5 separate regions of the Homo sapiens genome follow, and regions 1, 3, 4 and 5 are each linked to region 2. The links are contacts of gene promoters, found by promoter capture Hi-C in human tissues and cell types (Jung and others, 2019). All regions are on one chromosome and are shown on one strand. Each heading gives the region's core, a stretch centred on a gene start or on the middle of the fragment in contact. The rest is flanking DNA. Distances are from core to core; before and after follow the strand shown.

Region 1 (2,746 bases), core at 226-2,725, 710 kb before region 2:
AATTTTATGAAGAGCAGGAAATGGATTAGCAAAGAAAGTAGTTGAAGGTGGTTAGAGAAGGTATATATATAAAAGAGAAGATCATATATTTTTCTAAACCTAGTATTAAGCAGAGTGTTAGGTGCATAGTATACTCAGACCAGTGTTTGTTAAATTACATATGGAGCTTGGATTTAGGCTGTCTTTTGGAAGAAGAGACATTACTCATCCAACCAACAGGATTTTAGCCTTTCCTATTTTGAAATTCTTCCTTTTCTCATAACTTTATTTGCAAAGTTATAACAACAACGTAATGAAAGATAATCCAAATACTATAGATGCGTCATTAAATTTTTAAAAAGATACGGAAAAAAGGAAAATTTGATTATTGATGTAATGTATTAGATTTAATGCTTGATCAATAACACTAAGCAACAAAATGATATTACATCAAATTAGTAAATATAAGAACCAATGGGAATATGATTCAAGAGAAAATGACTGATTAAAGCTCATTTTATTTCTCAATATAGTTCATGACCAAGCAAAGAATTCTAAAAAATAAAGACAAAAATGACTATGCTTCTTAAATTTATTTAGCCTCATTCTTCAGGTATTTATTTCTGAACAACAAAAAATACAGACTATATTAAAAAATCTCATATGCTGTTAAAATCTATTATTTTTCTGGAACTATACAAATGTATAATTATTTTGAATAATTATAGAATTTTCCTGATTTGTATCATATACAGTAAACATTTCATATATTGTGTTAAGGGAAGTTTTGATGAGTTATAAAGTTCTCAACAAAAATGTATCAAAAAGATAAGTCATGAACTGCGTCTGATTTTCCACAAACTGAATATACTGCAATTAATTGGTTGTAGTGCTATAGATATGAGATTATGAGCAAAGCAACATAAACATAAAGGGTCTATTTTATTGAGTGGACATAATCTTCTATGGCTCCTTTCCAACTCTGTCTAGTGTGTGAACAAGATATTTTCTGTTGAATTAAACTAACAAAGAGGGTGAGTGAGCATTTAAACCCCAAGGACTATTCTTGGAGGGTGTTACACACTGCTTCAAGATTCTTAATGACTTCAGTTTAAATGGCATAATTTTCTTTCTCAGTTTGCAAATTGGCTTTTAAAAAATACTGACCATCAGCCTATATATATATCTAATTAAAAAGAATAAAATCAAAACTTAATATTTCCATTTTTATATGAAAGTCATTGTATACTATCTGTGATTTTACAAGTACAATTACTGTGATCTAGGATTGATTATTGATCTATTTTATGTTACTTTTTACAATAAGTATATTTTACCCATATCTTATTCAAAATGAAGTGGAACAGTAAAATACTGTCGGATTCTAAATGGCATTTTTAAACTGTTTAAAATGTGAATTCATTCTATGTGAAGTAATTTCATTAACCAAAAAACATAGCGTAATTTTGAAAAAGTCAAATAATTAAATCTTAGTGTCTAAAATTTGACTTATCATATTTTCCAGACTGTAAACTCTTGTGTTACATTGGCAACAATTTGAAATTATCTGGTGTAATGCTAATTTCCTTTTCCAACAGGCATTTTCTTGTTGTTTATCATAAAAGACAAAAGGCATTAACACTATAGTTAATTAGGGGTAGTCATGTGATAGAAAATGCAGATTGTTGGGAAGAATTAAAGCTTTGTCAGCTAGATTTCTAACTCCCCTTCATTAAGATTAGATAAAGTGCTCTCAAGACAGTAAACTGATTATGACAACCAAATTTTTCAAGTAAATTTATTTAGATGAATAGCTTAGGAAATTGAACAATAAAAACAGAGGTAACATAAAGTTCCAAAACACTGAACAAAAAAAATATGAGTTAGATGTAATTTATATGCTTATAATTTTACTAAAAACAATAAAGAATTAAAATAAGTTATATATCTATACACGTATGTATGTAAATATCAATAGAGGTTAATTGTTAGAAACAAAATGGACATATACAAAACCAAAACTTCCTCCTATATTTCTACTTTTTGAGAACGAAGACTGTTAACAGTTTTACTCTTTCAGCCTTATTCATACCTATATTCTGTTATTGTTGTTTTGAACAAAAATGTGTCACAAGTAAAGTTCTACATAACAAGACCACCTTTGCTAGCCAAGCCCCTTCTTCTCCTCCTCCCATAATGTATTTTGCCATGATACAAGCCCCCATTCTTTCTGTAACTTCAAGAAGGAATATGAGTTTCTGAACTCCATTGAGGAATGGGGAGTAATCACTCTGTGGTTCTCACCACGTGCACATTAATAAATTTGCATGCCATTTCTCCTATTTAAAACAAATAAGTAAAGTTCTGCTTCTGATATTTGTTTGATTATTTCGGCAATTATGGACACCATACAATATCTATATGTACAAATTATTATTCATTTTTAAAAATTAAAATAACTTTTAAAATTGCATTACATAATAGACATCAGCAAACTGAGGGAATTTAAGAGTTACATATACATATATACACATACATATACAAACACACATATATATATTTTACATAGTACAAATAATGCTTCAAAAACTGACATTTTTATTTTTGTTAAGCTGAATATTTCTGTGGAACAAGTTTTTGAAAGTAAAATTTTGAATCAAAAGTTATGTACTTTTTCTGTTTGTTTTAATATATTGCAAAACTGTATCTCCAGATGATTTTGTCAAAGTACACTCTCACCAAAAGTGAATGAGAGTGCAGGAATGAG
Region 2 (2,700 bases), core at 163-2,662:
GCACTCCTTTACAAAGGAAGAAGCGTCCAGTTTGTGTTGACAGCCCTGGCGCGCCTGGGCCAAAACAGCACCCCCTTTCCCGCGATCCCCCGCCCCCCCGCGACACACAGACACCCGGGATTTGAAACTAGCTTCACTGAAAGCGGCATCCATAGCGTCTATTCGAGCTGCCATGAGTATGGAGAGGTGATTGTTCAAAAAATGATGGCATGAGTCATAAACACCTCCTGAGTATTCTTTGCAGCAATTAATGGGCAGCAGGGTGCCGGAGAAGTTGTGGAAGAGAGCTATGGATCTATTTTCTCCCTAAGGACAGCTCTTTTTCCCATGATCCTGACTGTCCCTTGCCTTCCTGCTTGGGAATACATTTTTACATCCCACCTACCCCCTCCCCTATCTGTGCATGTGACACTCACTCTACCTGTCTGAACGCTGAGACTTGCTGGGGATTTTCTTTTGGTCGTCAGCTAATGACTTTCCTCCTACCTCATTCATCCCTTAAGGTGGTTCTTTACACTTCATGGCATTTCAGACCCTTCGAAAGCCTCATTTTTTGCCAAACCTCTACCACAGGTCCTAGGGAAGCTCCCCTACATTTAACATTGCATAGAAGCCCAATTTACATACATATGCATGCAGACATTCATGTTGATGTGGCAGTGCTTGGAAGATCCCTGTGCCCTAATGCATTTAAAATCAACACATTCCTAGCACGTCGATAACTTTCTTCCCTGAAAGGGTTAAAAAGCATTTAGACCAGCGTCTTTAATATATATATTCCACCCAAAGCCTCAAGCCCTAGTGATCTGACAAGAAATCAAGGTAATCCTCACCACTAAGAAAAGTCTTGCAGAGGAATTCTGCCTGGATATCCACTAGTTAGAGGCTATACTAACCAACTCACGTATTCGTTTGAGCATACTGCAAGAATATTTATTGAGCACAAGCTCAATCACCGCATTGAACGCCAAATCTGGCAAGCAAAATGCATTTCCTATCTGAGGGGGGGAGAACGAGCTGTGAATCAACTCCTTTAGTATTATCAGATTATTTTATCGGTGCAAATTGCAAAGTAAGCTGCCAGCCTCTCTCCATCTACAAGTCAGCCCACCTCCATCCAAAGCGGAGGGGACCCCCAAAGCAGACCTACCTTTCACACAAGACACCGTCAATAAAAAGACGAGGTTCCAAAACGTAAATCCACTTTTAATCCCCATTTTCTTCATCAGGATGAAGTCTAGGCGGCCACATTTAGCGCATCTTCGCTTGCCAGGCTCCCAGGGTTTGGATTCCTTTGCTCGGCTTTCCCCTTTGCGGATCCCTTTCATATTATTCGCGAGCTCCTAATTCCTGCTCCTCAGCCCGGCGCAGTGGAGTTGTTGCTGTTGTTGGTGCGCGGTCACAGCTCGGAGTGAATGGTGTTTCTGGGATACCACAGCAACCTTGACGAGGACTCAACCATCTCTCCAACGGGGGCACAAAGTCTCCGCTACTCTGGATTCTGTCTTTTCTTGTGCGTTTTTTCCCCTCCACCAAAATCTACCCCAATTCTGGCTCGTTATAGCAACCACCAGAAACCACTAGTGAGCCTCTTAAAGCCCACCTCTGCTCTCTGATAAACTCCACACAATATTTGAAATTAAGGGGCTTGCTTTTTTTCCCCGAATAGATCAATTCTGCCTGTAAAAGCAGCCCAAGAAATAATGTTAGTGAGCTCTCCGTTGCAGGCTGCGAATACAGAAGCATGTCAAAGGAATATTTTAATCGGAGGATCTGTGTTGCTTTTGGGGAAACCGTGACGATAATGAATCGGGCTCCATCGATGCCCACGTCGTTATAATGGGACATGTGTTACTACTGTAGTTGCAGTATATTTCAGGCAGGCTTCTCCCATTTATTATCCTGTGATTTAATTGAAAAAGGAAATCACAGAGAATTTTCTCAATAAATTCTGCCTTCACACGGAAAAGAATGTATTTGAACACATGTATTTACATACTCAAATAACTACGTGTAAACCCTTCACCGGGTTTTTATGATTCGGGAAACGGATTTCATCCGTGGCCTGGGCGGGGGTGGGGTGGGGAGGGAAGTCAATGTCGTTTCCTCAAATAGTTCTCCCTTTCATCCTCCCAACCCCCTTTTCAGTTTGTGTGTGCCGCAGTTAAACTACTTTATCTGTGGTAGTTATCTAGAACAAACCCATTTGTCTTAATTCTGAATCGGTACCAAATATGTAAATAGGAGGTTTCTTTCAAAACGAAAAATGTATGTATCTATACATCTGGATCTGCTTCCCCCATGCACCACGCAAGGGTTAAGATTGCACAAGGGAAGAGTTCTTGCGCCATCTACTGGCCGTCTCCGAGCCGCCCGTTCTTCCTTCGCATGTATAAGGGACCCTGTTTTTGCCATCCCTTGGTGTCAGGGGAGCTGTGTCCCCGGGACCAGTATGTCGTGCTCCTTGATTTTTTTCGACCACGGTCCTGGCCCAAATCTTTCAATGAACAAGTTCCTTAGATTAGGCAACTGATTGGTGATCTGACCTTTTCGGGAATCTGGTCCCCTCTCAGCAGTGGGGAGTGCCACAGCGCTAGTTCTGAAACAGGATATTGCTGTTGCGTGTGGCTCCATTTAACTGCCTCAGGCTATCATGGGCGTGAGCGTCTATCAACAAGGCTTAGTCTAGAGGACTGCCCA
Region 3 (2,780 bases), core at 78-2,577, 560 kb before region 2:
CAGTCTTAAATGGATACAAACAGGCCCTTGTAATAATAGCCTATAAGTACTAAGATAAAAGTAATCAGGAGTTATGGAACCATAAAAGAATAGACATTTTCGCTACCCTGATTTTAGAGAAGGCATCCTGGTGGTGATGTCAGAACTGAATCTCGAAAAGTCAGGATGCATAATCTTAGAATAGAAATTCAAAATGGACTTCTAGGCAGGGGGAAAGACACACTAAACAGCACATTGAATACAGAAAAACTCTGGAATTCCCAGAACATCTAAGGTCGTTGGGATTTGGGGCAATTCTTTTGATGGTGCTGGGGATGTAAATAAATGCCTATTCAAGGGGGTCATATATGATAGGCTACTACAGTTGTTGGATTTTTGTTTTTTTGTCAAGCTAAGGGGGGATACTTTGTGGATATCCAAAAGGCACTTGACTTACCTATGTCTAGCTTTAAGGAGATCGATCCAGCTGCCATATACAGATGGATTTAAGAGAGTAATATGGTAAGCCTATATGCAAGACTACAGGAAGTCCAGTCTTATAACTTTTCTCATATACTATAAAATCCTTAAAAATGTAGCTGTTTTCACTTTCTACATATTTATTTGACAAATACAATTGTATATATTTATTATGTACAACATGGTTTGAAATATCCATTTAGTTTAAATGCAGAGACATTTATTCATTTATGTATATATTCAGTCACTCATTCAACCTACACTATGTATTAAAGAACTATGATGCACTCAACTCTATGAGAATAATCACACAGTTGTGAACCAGGCCCTCCTTCATGCACCTCACGTTACAGGGAGAGAGACAAACAGGAAACAACCCAAACAAGTTGATTATATAATCATGAAACAACTGCTACAAAATAAAAGTATGGGGTGTCCTGAGGGTGTATATTTGGGGACTTACAACATTTTGAGGAGTCATATTAGAAAGTACTGTTTTTTATTTTTAAACGAATTAAAGGCTCATTAATACAAGATAATGGAAGGCATGGTAAAGACAAAGCATGTTAAAAATCTGGACTAAACAGCATTTTTTAAAGACATTAAATTGCATTTCTTTCAAATGTATCTAACAACCAAAGTGTTAACATTTTCTTACAATCCTATAAATATGTTTCTATGAATTGTTAAGAATTATTGTGAACAGGTTGTAGCCCTTGGTATGAAAATGATGCTGCTAAGCAATTTTTAAAGTAACTTGAAACAGGTTCTTTTTAGGTAGATTTACTGTTTTCTGCACTCCAATCTTTTTATTTTACTGAAGGGCTTAACAAATCCTTGGTGATATGAAGGCAGCATAATAGCCAACCGTTTCCCAAAATAATGAGGTTTCATTAGAAACTTTTTCCTGCTTAACAACAAGTAGAATATTCCCCTAAAGTGGCATTCAAGACCTTTACAAAGGGAAATAAAGGAAAGAGAAAAAGGAACAAATTCTTCCCGATTAGGAGACTACTGCTGGGAATTGGGTCAGTGAATCCTAGGATATGAGAAACACTTATTTACAGGAGAGTCTATTTCTCTATGCAAAATAATAATATTTTTAAAAAATATTATTGATTAATTCCAGGAACAAACATAATATTGTACAGAATGTCAACTGTCAAGGTCCCTGATCCCTAATTGAGTTTATTTTACTCATTCCTTTTTCTGGGAGACTGGTAGGTAGAATGGTATAATTATATCAATCTAAGAAAAAATTCTGAAAATCAAAAAGAAATCAGAAATAGGGAAGCCTTAGCATAAAACTATCATTCAGAGCTATACAGATGTGAAAGGACAAGAAAATCTCAGGACCCCAGAGTCTTTATGTCAAAAGGAAAAATTAAGCTTGGAAACTGAGTCTCAAGCAAAAATCTGCCTTTCCTTTTGTTACTAACCAGCAACAAGATACAAGACCACATGTCTCCCCAGGTAGCTTCCTTCACCCTGACAATGTAAATTAACAGCTTCTCTTTGCAGGTAAGAGACAAAGATAAGACTAGAAATCATCCCTTGCCCACCCTTGAGAAAAATGCAGATTTACTGAGCATGACAATGCATAAATGACTGTTTCCCTACAAGCTTCCTTTGCACATGGATTCTGTAAAAGCTCATTAAAGCCTCATAGGAATGTGTCCCCTTATTTCACTACCTACTCTACTTTCTTTGCTTTCCTCTTTTCCCCTCCTTCCCACTCTTTTCCCTTTATTTATTGAAGATCTCAAGATCCCCTTTGGAAAGCGTGTGAACCACAGATCCTACTGTGGCTTGTGTCTCATTTTCTTGGGCACATCCTCAATCTTGACAAAATAAACCTCTAAATTAATTGAGACTTGTCTCAGACACTCTTCGGTTTACATTGAACAAATACATTTGTCCTAAATTATGTAGACACTGGATGGCAAAAGAAAATGAATCCATCCTTTATCTGCCACACTGAAACAAGTTGAATGACACTTAAGAAACTTTTGATGCCCATAAACAGGTTAAAGACTTTTCATAACAGGAACTCCAAGAAATAATTTCTTTAGCCTAATAAGTTGACAGGCAAATTAGCTGAATCAGATCTCTCAAAATTCTAAATAAGAAAAAATACACAAAAGCTCATATTTAAGATTGAGAAGTGAAATATAAATGTCAAAATCAGATGCTGCATTCTGAAAAGCACACAGTGGGCCCACCTGGTAAATGTGAAGGGAGTGGTGAATAAAAGGGAGGGGTTGTGTGGCCATCTGGCAAGCAGATGTCCAGGATAAAGGAGCACACTTTTGCTTAAAATG
Region 4 (2,758 bases), core at 23-2,522, 780 kb after region 2:
GTTGGCTCTGTATTTTCTGGAGTTCGAAGTACAAATACTTTATTATGATATAAAATGTTTTCTGTAATCAGATACTTGCTTGACCTGCTAACTTTATTTCTTATTCCAGAAATTAGGTCCAGAAATTAAATCCAGAAATTACTCTCTCTAGTAACCTGTGATGACAAATACAATTTGTTATGAATGTAGCACAGAATGAATGGGGGTGGAGGGAAAGAGGGAGGGAAAGAGGGAGAAAGGTGAGAAGAAGGAAGACAGAGAAAAAAGTAATACAAGGAAACAAATTCAAATTCTGTCTTTTTTGGGAGATAAAACGCTAAAAGCTGCAAACAACTCTCATTTGATTTGTTTTCACTTTCTGTGTTATTTTCTATCTAGTGCTCTGCTTTAAGCAAGAATTCCATGTACAAAAATTGCCTTTACTAAAATGCCATTTATAATGGGATAGGTCAAGTATACAGAATTGAGCCCAGAGCCTTTTTCATTAGCATTTTTAAGAATATTTGTAACTTTCACTTTCAAGGCATTTCAGGAGCATGCATGGTCTGTGCCAGCATTTTCCTCGTTTCTTCGTAGTATGCATATTTCTGATTATTAACCTGAGGAAAACATTTTATTAGGGTTTCCTTGTATTCAAGCAATTTATTTTTTTCATACCATGAGAAATGTCACTGCCATTGACTCTCCCTCTTGCTTATTTTACATTCATTAGGGTATATACAAATATATCTCTTCTCAGTAATTCTGTAGTAATATTTTGTAAGACGGGACAAAGCACATTATATGTGTAAAGAGCATTCATGTTTCTGGGCAAATGATATTCTTCTATGCAGTTTTTCAGTGTACTTTACAAGATTTTAAAGATTATTCTTTTCATTATTTATTTCCCTGGCTTATCATGTATCATACTAATTAATCATTTTGTTTCAGTGGCATTTTAATTGTTTTGAAAACCTATTGCTATATTGGTAGATATATTTTACTTTTTCAGTTAAAAGGTGATACAATTGAAAATTCATTTTGTAAAAATTGGTTATAAAATAAAAATCTATATAACATTTGTTTTAAAAGAAAATTTACATAACATAAATAAAAATGCAGATGTTCAAACATGCTGTTTCCAATGCTAATTTTCATTAACTCACAAATTTTTCTATAATTTGTGTGAAGCTACAGCTTATTTTGCATATTCCAAATTATTCTATTATTATACATTTATGTTGAAAAATGCAAACTCACTGTTCTATCACTATTAAAGGCATACATAATAGTTATCGTCAATTTTCATTCACTAGAATCACAAAATAATGTAAGAATTATAATTTTGTATGAGTAAGACAATTCTACATATAAAATTAGTAGCACAGGTGTTTATTTAAATGTTTATAAAGAGTATTTGAAACTTCAGACAATGGTATATAAGTATTCTTGATGAAATAAATATTTAAATAGAAAGCTATTGGGTTTTTCCTAAATTATATTTACCTGGAGAAATGGTGTTTATGAACTTTTAGACTTATAATCTCTTTCTCTTTCTCACTCTCTTCTGATAAATTGATATTTATCTAATCTAGCTGTCTTTTATCATCTACATTAAAATGCACACCATCAGAAAATTTCAAAGAGCTATTTTACTTTTGGTGACTACCAGAAAATTGCATATTTTTCTGAAACTCAATGTCATAGAGCATATGACAGCGGCCTCCTGGATAATTTTGCTTAATCGCCAAAAAAAAGCTTAATTCTTAACTCATAATTCTTAATAACAATGTCACCAATGGCAAGAGTTAAAGAGAAATATGAGTTATTTTGCTCAACATTATTTTGTCAGACATCTATATTGTTTCGTGTGATTTTTTTATTTTTGTATAATGTTTCATTACATGAGGATAGTAAATTGTACTATTAATAGAATTTTATTCTGAGTTTGAGACAGTTATGAATAGTGCTTCTCAATATTTTTTCTCATCTTTGATGAATATGTGTGCGCCTTGTTGTATATATACAAATATGTATTAGTTACTAAATTATAGAGTATGCATAATGTTCAGATTTTGTAGAAGTTATCAAAAATTTCCAAAAAATGATGTTGAGAGAAAAATAATCAGACACAAAAGAGTACATACACTATAATTTAATTGATATAATTTAAAGTATCAAAACAGAAAGATTAACTCTGTTTTAAATTTTAAGAATTCAGAATTTTATCTATCCTGACAGAGGAAGGTAGTGACTAAAAGTAGGCAGAAAGAGAGTTCACAGTATTCTGCTAAAAATCTGTCTTTTCATTTGGGTTCTAATTCAGCGGTATATTCAAATACTTATCAAATCGATAAGTATATGTGCCTTTTTATGATTCTTGCACTTTATATATATATATCATAATTAAAATTTTACATTAAAATGAAATATAGCAATTTATTCCAAGAATAGTGAGAATGGTTTCTTAGACAATCCTAGGCTTCTCTTAGCTCTTCCATATGTCAAAACCACATATAACATTACTAAAATATTAACCAATGTTTACGTATGTTAAAACAACTAATTGTGTGTTGTACACAGTACAAATGACTCTACAGTTTTATATGCATTCATCTAACAATATTTATCAAGAAGCAGCTATGTGCTAAATACTAAGATACATATATTGATCAAACACAATATCTTCCATGAAGACAACCAGGACTAGTAATAAACATAAGCCATTCTGGGAATTGCACTTCTGCATTATATCTGCTAAAACCAGAGTGGATATTTA
Region 5 (2,700 bases), core at 112-2,611, 980 kb before region 2:
TGCTTGGCTAGTCAGATGGAGTTTTTCCTCTGCCCTATTTATTTTGTACCACCAACACCCTAGATAGAAGTTTCCCTGCATGGGGAATGGAGTGAAGAGAATTCACAGGCGAGTGAGAGAACTGGATTGTTCAGAAATAGTAAGCCTGTACAATTTTATCAAGAATTTACAGTCTAAACTGAATTCTTAAAAGGTATAATGCTACTAGAATCCTACAGCATGCTCTGTGACCCATATTTCCTGCAGAATGATATTTCAGTTAATTCTACGGAGAAATGTCTTTTAAAGCTCTTATATGAAATGATACAGTTCTCATATCACAAATTTAAATGTTCAAGAAATGTAATTTCTCATCTTATCCAGAGTTTTATCTAAATGTCTAAAATGTAGAGAATGCCAGGCCAGAGTAAAGTTGAGGAATTTAGGAGCAGGGAATAGGTGAAGAGGAACTGGGAAGAGGCTAAAATGAAGCATTTAGGCCTCCTCATTCCTTTCTAATCTCAAAGTGTCAGTCCAGAGTTTGTGGCTCCATACTCCTTATCTTGGCTGTAAGATAACTCCTGGACTAGCTTCTCCCAGCTGCATATGAATGTCTAAATGCTTAGGACTGTGTCAAGATTGATGCTTACCCACATTTTTTCCAAGAATGGAGGAGTGATCAACTAAGCAAACATTTGGTTAATGATTAAGCTAATACCTTGGTAAATAAATATGGTAAATAAGTATCTGGAAGAAACATAGAAAATGTCCTCCTCACCCAGGATAAAGGATTACTTAATTCATTGATTAATTCAATTGTTTGCATTTTCAGTAAATACATATTGAGATTTGTTTTAATGTGCAAAAAATTGTCAAGCTCTTTTATTTTTTCAATAATAAAAAAATACAACCTTTGATCACAAAGAGATGACATATTAGCGCAGTATTTTCATTGAGCTGCAACTTTGTAAAGACAGTCCCCTTCAAATACGTACACACACACACACTCACACCCACACACACACAGAGAAACAGAGATAGAGAAAATATCCATATTGGCTTATTAAAGACACTTAGCATCCTTAGAGAAAATAAGCCTAAAATATTTTTTAAACCCCATGTTTCCAAATTTTGCTGGACTTTATGTCCCTGTCCTCTCACCCAGATATGTTAGTTTACCCTCCCAAAGTCTTGGGTAAAGTTGGTTTAGTGAATTCTAAATAAAGAAATGTCTCTAGAGTAGATAAGAACATTTCTTCCAGCTGTAGTAGTTTGAAATAAACTTTTCATTAGTACATCACACTACTTCCTGGTATCCTTAAATGTCAATAAGCTTGTGACTATAATTTTTAAAGTAATTATATGCTTTTGTCCAAGGAGTAGTTATTTCCACCAACATGAAGCGTTCTAGGCAAAAGGCCAAGACTGCCAAGCTTGCCAGATATTCTCTCACAAAAAGAGTTGGAAATTGGTATTGTGATTTATAAATCAGTCCCTTTGGGTTTGATGAGTGGAAAACAATGTGAACCTGTCTCCTGAAGTGTGAATACTTTCTGAGGTAGCTGACAACACTGAATTTCTGAAACTGCAAAGCTGGTGATTGGACACTGAATTCATATCTCAAGTCTAGACATCAGGAAGGGCTTTGACAGCAGTTCTCAAGGTCTTTGTAATATCACTTGCTCCTTTCTACTCATGTGCCTGCTGCCATCATTAGAGACCATGAATTACACTAGAATATTGACATACACACATACTCAGGCACATACACAGATCTCACTCATCCCTACTATCTTCTACAAACAATGAATGCTTCCTCCCTTCTCCACTGCCTAAATTAATCCCCTCATTGTTTCTCATCCATACCTCTGAAACAACCACTCTCTCCCTGCCACAAATAATATTAACTAAAATGTCCAACGGGTTTTGTTAATCCCCTGCAAAATAGCTTAATTAGTTACTATGGTACAGGAGATACATTTCAACCTCCTTCTCATCCTTCGATTTTCAGCATACTGCAGTTTTCACTCATCTCCCTAATCTAAATTTGATCCTCCTGTTATCCTTTCTCATTATACTTTGGGTTTTTTTTCCTCACCCTTCATGCTCACTAGCCAAATTTGTGCTCATAATTGTGTGTGTGTTGTGTGTGTGTGTGGGGGGGGGGGGTTTATTCAATTATGTTTACAAGGTAATTCTCAAAATATTTAATCAGTATGACGTGGGTACAGAAGAGTCAAAAGTGTTGCTAGGCTGGGGAAGGGCCAGCGGCCAGAGAATTATGGAGCAATTTTAGAGATTGGAAAAGTGGCTATTTGTCAGTACATGTAAATGTTTCAAAATTCTAACAACTGAAAATTGTTGTGCCCTTAAGTACCAGGTGAATATTATCCCTGGGTTATCTGACTACTCAATTAGACAATATACTAACAAGAACAATTAAGCATTTCTGTTTCATTGGGCATTAGGTAGCCTCAGCCTAGCAAATAATTCTCTGAAGCAAAGTGAGAACACAATAAGCATTTGTTGAATTGATTTAACATGGCATACCAGGCACTTCATAATCTGGTCTCTGCCTTCTTTACCAGTTTCAAGCATATTAGTTCCTGACTAGTACTTTGCTCTTCAACTAGAGATAAAAATATATAGTCCCTTTCAGAAAACATATGCCATATCTCTACATCTTTCCTTGTGTTGTTCTTTTTGGCTGGAATGTCCTTC

What was found. The method cuts DNA at HindIII sites, captures the fragments that hold promoters and counts their contacts. A contact is called where the count stands out against the background at its distance.
Region 1: a fragment that was not itself captured here is called in contact with the fragment with the promoter of CSMD3 in region 2 in 2 of the 25 tissues and cell types used here (mesenchymal stem cells and spleen).
Region 3: a fragment that was not itself captured here is called in contact with the fragment with the promoter of CSMD3 in region 2 in 2 of the 25 tissues and cell types used here (H1 embryonic stem cells and pancreas).
Region 4: a fragment that was not itself captured here is called in contact with the fragment with the promoter of CSMD3 in region 2 in 2 of the 25 tissues and cell types used here (lymphoblastoid cells and mesenchymal stem cells).
Region 5: a fragment that was not itself captured here is called in contact with the fragment with the promoter of CSMD3 in region 2 in 1 of the 25 tissues and cell types used here (dorsolateral prefrontal cortex).

The regions. Positions count from the first base shown.
Region 1 is chr8:112,726,452-112,729,197 of GRCh38, forward strand. All of the region lies in intron 13 of CSMD3 (CUB and Sushi multiple domains 3), which reads right to left. Among named protein-coding and RNA genes, the nearest start is that of MIR2053, 84 kb to the left of the region's middle. The HindIII fragment of the contact is 5,790 bases long and covers 1-2,746 here.
Region 2 is chr8:113,435,527-113,438,226 of GRCh38, forward strand. CSMD3 (CUB and Sushi multiple domains 3) reads right to left here and starts at 1,413. Exons shown (of 71, transcript NM_198123.2): 1 at 1,151-1,413. The coding sequence starts at 1,328. RefSeq lists enhancers at 1-507, 2,285-2,334, 2,347-2,700. The HindIII fragment of the contact is 9,532 bases long and covers 1-2,700 here.
Region 3 is chr8:112,880,349-112,883,128 of GRCh38, forward strand. All of the region lies in intron 10 of CSMD3 (CUB and Sushi multiple domains 3), which reads right to left. Among named protein-coding and RNA genes, the nearest start is that of MIR2053, 240 kb to the left of the region's middle. The HindIII fragment of the contact is 4,683 bases long and covers 1-2,780 here.
Region 4 is chr8:114,212,031-114,214,788 of GRCh38, forward strand. No RefSeq gene overlaps it. Among named protein-coding and RNA genes, the nearest start is that of CSMD3, 780 kb to the left of the region's middle. The HindIII fragment of the contact is 5,366 bases long and covers 1-2,758 here.
Region 5 is chr8:112,457,223-112,459,922 of GRCh38, forward strand. All of the region lies in intron 32 of CSMD3 (CUB and Sushi multiple domains 3), which reads right to left. Among named protein-coding and RNA genes, the nearest start is that of MIR2053, 180 kb to the right of the region's middle. The HindIII fragment of the contact is 3,506 bases long and covers 1-2,700 here.